Linked DNA regions of Homo sapiens: region 1 is linked to region 2. The links are contacts of gene promoters, found by promoter capture Hi-C in blood cells and fetal thymus (Javierre and others, 2016). All regions are on one chromosome and are shown on one strand. Each heading gives the region's core, a stretch centred on a gene start or on the middle of the fragment in contact. The rest is flanking DNA. Distances are from core to core; before and after follow the strand shown.

Region 1 (4,012 bases), core at 18-2,517, 740 kb before region 2:
TTCAAGTGGGGTGGGATCCTGCCTCTGGTCAGTCTCCAGATGGTCACTGGTTCCATTTCTGGGTCCACCTGGATCCTACAGAGTTGATTGGACATGTTACCAATTTGCTCCAAAGGAAGCAGCTGTCCTGTCACTTCCCCTTCAAAGAGTCCTTTTTCAATGCCAGAAATTACTTCTGTAAGCCAAGGCAAAAGCTTTCCTTGAAGTCAATGGTATCTTTCCAGATGTTAAAAATTACATTTGCACAGTTACATATGATACTGTATAAACCAGTTCTTTTAAGTGCAAAGGAAAATTGATTTCATACATTTTAATTTCAAGACTGCTGGAGGTCCTTACAGAAATACAAAGGCTAAAGTGAAAGCACTGAGGAGCAACCCTGTGAGTTTGCATCCACTATTCCTTATGCCCTAGGGACTCCCTGGTATGGCTAACCAACACCTTTAAGTAATATTCACATGTTTAAGGCACAGACTACTCCAGAAGGGTGAGGTTTGCAAGAAGTGGTAGAGCCAGCACCTCCAGCATTTCTTGGTAATCAGGGATTGCAGCAATGGTGGGTCCCTGAAAGAGGATGGGGGCTGGGGAACCCAATGAATCTGAGAGAAAAGATGTGGCTGATACAGGAGTATTTAATCAGAAAATTGTCCTAGATTTTCACAGGTACAAACACTCCTGATGTTCGCTGATAAACCTTTACATTAGGTAAACAATTAAAATGAACAAGAACATTCAATGGTGACATTTTGGTCTCTGATCGTTGATTAACATTAACTGAGATGGACCTGACCTTCTCCTTCAACCATAACATGGATTTCCAAGTTGCACTTGAAATGTCATACTGTCTACCAGCTTAATGGATTCTGACAAATCAGCTCAATGTATGATCCAGGAAAGTCGATTAACACACCGATAGATGCTTCGTTTGCTCTGAGGCGCGCCACCAGAACCTTCAATTCCCAAGGTTTTCACTGATATGTACTATTTATTTTAACAGAGGACATGATAAAACAGAAATATTTTGGTATAAAAACCTAAGACCTCAATTTCTTGTGGTCTTATTATTAATAAATTCACATATAGTAACAAGATGTGTCATTAGAATCACTATTATCCCTTTAGAAATTAATTTTATTCCAAAGTCTTCAGTGCAAGCATATGTGCAGCACTTAATCCAGGAGCCAAATCAAGGCTTAAGCAAATCACCACAAGTCATGGCACCTCCAGAAGGTATTGTGAGTTCCCCAAACCCCAGTGGGACACCATGCTGGCTGGCTACCTGTGCACCCACCACTCAGCATCCAGCAGCCTTCTTTCTAGCAGGATCCCGACTCAGGGGGCTCCCATGTTTCTGCCCAGTTCACCATGCTCAACCCATGAATGCACACCGTGACTGTGGCCAGGAAGAGGGAGGCAGAAGGAGAGGGCAGGGAGGTGGTTTCCCGCCTGGGGTGTCCTTGTTCTTCAAAAGAGACAAGTGGGAAGACACAGGCCCCGCCTTCCACTGGGCATTTCATGCTGACAAAAGCCACCACAGCAGAGGGGAAGGGTGGACAGATCAGCACCAAAGGTATGGAGTCTAGCAGCCCAGAAGCTGCCCAACCACAGCACTTCTTCCTCTTGTCTTGTGCAAGAGAACATTTTCCTCATGGTTCTTGGAGTTTTTTATTTCCTCTCCCTTCTTTTGCGACAGGAAGCATCCTAATTAATCCCACTAGGATCTTGGAGTCAAGCCGCAAATTCAAGGGCTCTGCCCTCCCACACCATAAAACAGGCTCCATTACACAAACCCTTTTAAAGCTGCAACTCAAAAGCCCCAGCCTGGAGGAATCTGTTCTTTTTTTTTTTTTTCACCTCTATGATAAAGAAGTCCAAATACTATCACATCCCCACCAAGGTAAATGTGGTCACACCCTTCTACTTAACACTTGCAACTTTTGCACTCTAGGTAACAAGGTTGACAATAATGAGCTTTCTTGCTAATTTTTTTAGCAACAAACCAGCAGAAGAGGATATCACCCCATTTCTTATTAATCACAGATAACCAACTCCTACACATTTTATGTTTGAGTTCTAAAATGTTTTATTTTGCTTTATTAGAGCAGGCCTAAGGGGTAAGGGAGGTGTTAATCACTGAAATCAAGTTCTAAACTGTATGAATAGAGAAACAACTGGTATTTAGGCCCTGGAGACCATGAGATTGAAGAGATTATCCATCATGGCACATGATAATGACACGGTGCTATCCCAATGACTGTATGACCACAGACTCCTCCCTCATTTTAATCCTCCATTCTGCCCCCCTACCTGTGGAAGACCCCAACTTAAAGTGGTCCAAGTGGAAGCTTAGTAGAAACTAGGACAGCTCAAGAACCTCCAGCTACAAGGGGTTGACCCAAGCTCCTGGAGAAACCTGAAGAAATAAATCATGGGCCCCTCTTCACTCCAGCTTTGGGGCCGTGGTCTCACAAGGGGCTGGTTCCACCCACAGGAGGAAGGGGGTCACTGGTGCTTTTTCAAAAGAAAGAGAAACAGCATGCCAGGACCAGCACTGGAGCATCCACGTATGCCAGAGCGCCTACCAAATGGGCGGCTGGTGTGACAGCTGCTCTGGGAGGCCTCGTCCACTTGAAATTCCAGGAACTGCCTGAATTCACCCTCCACTATTATTAAAAGATGTTGATGTCTGTTAGCAGTGACACAGAGCATTTACATGGTTAACCTCCCCAAAGAAGAAGTTCTTGTCATCTCTGGAGAAGAGGGAAGGTACTTTCTGGTGCCCACCCGTCTTCGTGGGAGCGCGTCGGCACTATCAATCACCTGATTGATTGGTTGTCTAGTTATCCAAAACATGACCTTAAGAATAAAATGAAATTTGCCATTTATCATCTCTGCTGGGATATATTAATAAGAGAAAATGCTGCTTTGTGATTTCTGTCACATCCTCGGTGGCTGAGGGATACGGCAAATACTTACTGGGCTTTGTAATATCCTGGCCACAAAGAGCTCATCCTGAGATGATGAGGCCGCCAGAGCGATCTGATTGTCAGAGGCAGAGCTGGGATGTGAAATGGACACTTCCTTTAGGCCTGCTGTTGGCTTGCTCTCAGCTTCATTCACGCAGTCGAGCTGTGCAGCTCTCAGTGCAGCGGATAATACCTGAACTTGAGCTGGAGGAAGAGAAGTTTCAAGAAATTTAACAACTTTATTTGGTTTGTGGGGGTTTACTTCAGAGAAGTCTTCAAAACAACATAGTCTGCACTAAGCTACATGGTGTGGGTGTACTACACTGACACGTATCTGTTCTGAAGTGACAATGCTCTGGAGTCTCAAGCTCTCGGCAAGGTGGTGATATTTCCGGCCACTAACAATTAACTACTTCAACTAAATGCCAGCCATGCACAGAACATCAAACCTGAACTTGAAAAGTCTCAATTCGGAAAAACCCAAGTGACTCCACCATGTTTCACAGAAAGACAGCATGGTATCACTGAACAAGGATGACTGGGAGGTCCAACAACTCAGTGAAGGGTATCCTGCTCCCCCATTTATAAAGCAGGATGGCTACCTGCTCACATACACATACATACATGTGCACACACACACCCATGCATGAATACATCCATTTACACACAGATGAGTAATGCTCTCACTCACCAAGCCCCAAAGGCTGCCCATTCTTTCTGTCCAGAGTATGACAGTTTGAGACTATCTAAACAGTAAAGATAACATATTTCACATACCTTTCTGTAAAAATAAACGAATGTTTTAGTATCCTCAACCTCCCAAAAGACACACACACACACACACACACACACACACATATTACTTCCTGCATCCTGCTTCTATTAATTAAATTTCGTGGACTCCAACATTCATCAAAACACTGAGAGCTTGTAGCTGGCTCTGCGCTGTGCCCAGGACAGGTCCCACCGCTCCAGTGCTACACACCAGGCCCTTCCCAATGGCCTGAGTGACATCTCCTGCCTGCCGTGGCCAGTTCACAAATAAA
Region 2 (3,780 bases), core at 651-3,150:
ACATATTCCCTGATAAGTTCTCCAAAAGTAGTCACTATTATCAATCTTCTGGAGCTCTTTTCTCTAATACTCTTTCCTTACTGACATGGGCATTACCTTTCTTTTTTTTCTTTATAGACAGGGTCTCACTTTGTCACACAGGCTGAAATGCAATGGCACGACCATAGCAAACTGTAACCTCAAACTCCTGGGCTGAAGCAATCCTCCTGCCTCAGCCTCCCGAGCAGCTAGGACTACAGGCGTGCATCACCATACCTGGCTGGGGGCGGGGGAAGGGGGGGGGCGGTGTCTCGCTATGTTGCCCAGGTTGGTCTCAAACTCTTGCCTCAAGCAATCCTCCCACCTTGGCCTCCCAAAGTGCTGGGATTACAGGTGTGAGCCGCGGCGCTCAGCCACGGGCGTTACCTTTCAAAGCATCCAGATTTTATGGCGTTAATCTCCCTGTTTAAAATTTTCTGTGATTTGGACACAAAGATGGGAACAACAGACATGGGGTATTCCAAAAGGCAGAAGGTGTGGAGGGGGGTAAAGGCTGAAAAAGTTGCCGAAAGGATTAGAAGCATCACGCAATATACCAATGTAACAAACCTGCACACGCACCGAATCTAAAATTAAAACAAAACAAAAACACAACAACCAAACAAAAACCTTTCCGTGATCATCAGGAGGCTGTCATATTCTCACCCCCTACTTCACGCTGGGAATCGAGCTGCGGGCTTTACAACAGCGTCAGCTGCTCCCTTTGGCAACGACCAGAGAGGTCCTTTCTCCAGAGATTTTTGTCAGCTCTGGGCACTTTTGCTTTGTGGGCCTATCTTCCACTTTATAAAAAATTAAAAATGCTACTTTCCACTGCATTCAGTACTTTTTCTTCTCTTTTCTTTTTTCTTTTCTTTTCTTTCTTTCTTCTTTCTTTCTTTTTCTTTTTCTTTTTTTTTTTTTTTTTGACACAGTTTCACTCTGTTGCCTAGGCTGGAGTGCGGTGGTGTGATCTTGGCTCACTGCAACCTCCACCTCCTGGGTTCAAGCGGTTCTCGTGACTCAGCCTCTTGAGTAGCTGAGACTACAGGCGCCCGCCACCATGCCCAGCTAATTTTTGTGTTATTAGTAGAGAAGGGGTTTTACCATGTTGACCAGGCTGGTCTCGAACTCCTGACCTCAGGTGATCCGCCCGCCTCGGCCTCCCAAAGTGTTGGGATTACAGGCGTGAGCCACCGTGCCCTGCCCTTTTTATGTATGTATTTATTTATTTGAGATAGGGTCTCGCTCTGTCGCTCAGGCTGGAGTGCAATGGTGCGATCTTGGCTCACTGCAACCTCCGCCTCCCGGGTTCAAGCGATTCTCCTGCCTCAGTCACCCGAGTACCTGGGATTACAGGCGCATGCCACCACGCCCGGCTAATTTTTGTATTTTGAGCAGAGACGGGGTTTCACCATGTTGGCCAGACTGGCCTCGAACTCCTGACCTCAAGTGATCCGTCAGCCTCGGTCTCCCAAAGTGCTGGGATTACAGGCGTGAGCCCCCACGCCCGGTCGCGTTTAGTACTTTTTACCAAAACTAAAAGAAATTAAAACACTTTCGTGGGTCCTGGACACTTCCGGAAGGATTTGTTTCCAGCTGCCAGATGAGGAAACTGGGGCTCGCAGAGCCGGCGCCGCAGGGGAGGGGCTGTGCACGAATCCAGTGGGAAACCTCTCTCCGGAGCTAAGCCCCTGGTCCACCCGGGCATCGCTCCGGGATCGACTGGGGGCGTTCCTTCCGCCGGTCCCCTTTGTTCCCAGTGCCGAGCCCGCGGCCCTGCCCTTCCTCCAGGCCCCGCCCCTTCTTCCAGGCCCCGCCTCCCGCCCGGGCCGAGGCGCGCGGCCGCGCGTGCGCCCGCCCGCCCGTCCCCGCCTCGCGCATGCGCCGCGCTCGCTCGCGGGAGGGCATGGCGGGGGCCGTGCCGGGCGCCATCATGGACGAGGACTACTACGGGAGCGCGGCCGAGTGGGGCGACGAGGCTGACGGCGGCCAGGTGAGGCGGGGCACTGGGCGCACCCTAGAGAGAATCGTTCGTCTCCGCCGCCGGCGGGCCGGCCCCACTCCCGGAGAGGCCGCGCGGCGCGAGGCTGCGGGCGTGCGGGGGGTGTGCGCGCGCACGGCCCGCGCGGTCACCGTGTGGTTCAAGCACAGCCCGCCCCGCCCCCGCCCGCCCGGGGTCCCGCGGCGCGGCCGCCGGGGTCCCCGCCTCCTCGCCTGCAGGACCTTGGGGTGGGGGTGAGGCGCCGGAGGCTCTGGCGCGGGGCGGCCCGAGGCCCCCAGTACCCCCTCGCTCCGGCCAGGCCCGGCGCCGGCCCTGCGACCCCCGCGGCGGGCGGGACACCAACGCTAAGGTGGAGGGTTGGGTCCGGAGCTCACAGACTTTTAAACAAAAATAAAGTGGAAAAACTTCACAGCAGCATCATGAGGAAAAAGTAGAACTTAGGGCATTCCTACATGTGCTTTACTGTTTTATAAACTGTACTCTTCAGCACCTTGGGCTGATTTCATCTGTTTTTGGGCAAACTGATGGAAAGGATTTTCGGGCCTTGACCTTCCAGGGTTTGGGGTGGAAGCCCAGGAGGGATCACTGTTCCACCCTGAGGACAGGGACTGCAGAGCCAGGGCAGGTAGCTCTAGTCTGGACAGTGTGTCCCCACCTTACTCTAAAGACCCAACTGAGGCGCATGATTGAAATGTAGCTTCTCACGTCCCTCCCCTGGAGACGGCCCAACAGTTGGTCTGGACGGGAGCCTGGGAACTTGCATTTTTTTTTTTTTTTTTTTTTTTTTTTTTTTTTGTGGTGGAGTTTCGCTCTTGTTGCCCAGGCTGGAGTGTAATGGCGCCATCGCGGCTCACTGCAACGTCTGCCTCTCGGATTCAAGCGATTCTCCTGCCTCAGCCTCCCGAATAGCTGGGATTACAGGCACCCACCACCATGCCCAGCTAATTTTTAAAATTTTGAGTAGAGAGGGGGTTTCACCTTGTTGGCCAGGCTGGTCTCAAACTCTTGACCTCAGGTGATCCACCCACCTCTGCCTCCCAAAGTACTGGGATTACAGGCGTGAGCCACTGCTCGTGGCCCAGGAACTTGCATTTTTAACAACAATCAAGATTGGGGATGTCTGGTGCATTTTGAAGTGGTATTATAAGGGAATAAAGGATGAAGTGGGGCTTACGTTGATAAACATGGGTGGTGGTGTGATGGCGGCTTCGGAGCCATGGTCTAAAATGCCAAGGCGGGCGATGTGTTTCTGGAACTGAAAGAAGCCCTGTGATGTTAGCTGCCTGGTGGAAGCAGTGGCAGGAGGTCAGTAGGGAGCAGGTTCTGAAGATCCTTGGAGAGCTGCTGAATGGTATGGCTTGTTCAGGAGTTTGGGGCAGGGAGTGACACGAGTAGATTTGCATGTTGGATCATTTCACAGTGTTGGAGGCTTAGGGTGGAGTGGATAGAGTCAGACTTAGCTAACTGAGAGCTTGGGCCATGTGTGTCATGCGTTATCCCCTTCCACACACAGGATTTTGAGTTGGGTGTTACCCTACTTATCTGGTAAGTGTAGAAAATGAGACGAAAAGACTTACTGACCTGCCCAAGGTCATGAAACTAATAAAGGAAGGAGAGGGGACCCAAACCCACATCCTTTGCCTCCGTTGCCACTTCGTCAAATTGCTGACTACCAAAGTGGTCCAGATGAGAAGGTGTGAATTAGCTTAGTGGTAGGTTGGTGTTTGGGGCATCTAGTATATCACCTTGAGCCTTTT

Evidence for each region. The method cuts DNA at HindIII sites, captures the fragments that hold promoters and counts their contacts. A CHiCAGO score of 5 or more calls a contact.
Region 1: a contact is called between a fragment that was not itself captured here and the fragment with the promoter of NELFCD in region 2, in 1 of 17 cell types (neutrophils). The highest score is 5.4, in neutrophils.

Annotation. Positions count from the first base shown.
Region 1 is chr20:58,240,536-58,244,547 of GRCh38, forward strand. It overlaps the pseudogene PPP4R1L. Among named protein-coding and RNA genes, the nearest start is that of ANKRD60, 14 kb to the left of the region's middle. RefSeq lists an enhancer at 929-1,429. The HindIII fragment of the contact is 2,151 bases long and covers 193-2,343 here.
Region 2 is chr20:58,979,356-58,983,135 of GRCh38, forward strand. NELFCD (negative elongation factor complex member C/D) reads left to right here and starts at 1,901. Exons shown (of 15, transcript NM_198976.4): 1 at 1,901-2,014. The coding sequence starts at 1,955. RefSeq lists a silencer at 1,757-2,236 and an enhancer at 2,159-2,659. The HindIII fragment of the contact is 8,660 bases long and covers 1-3,780 here.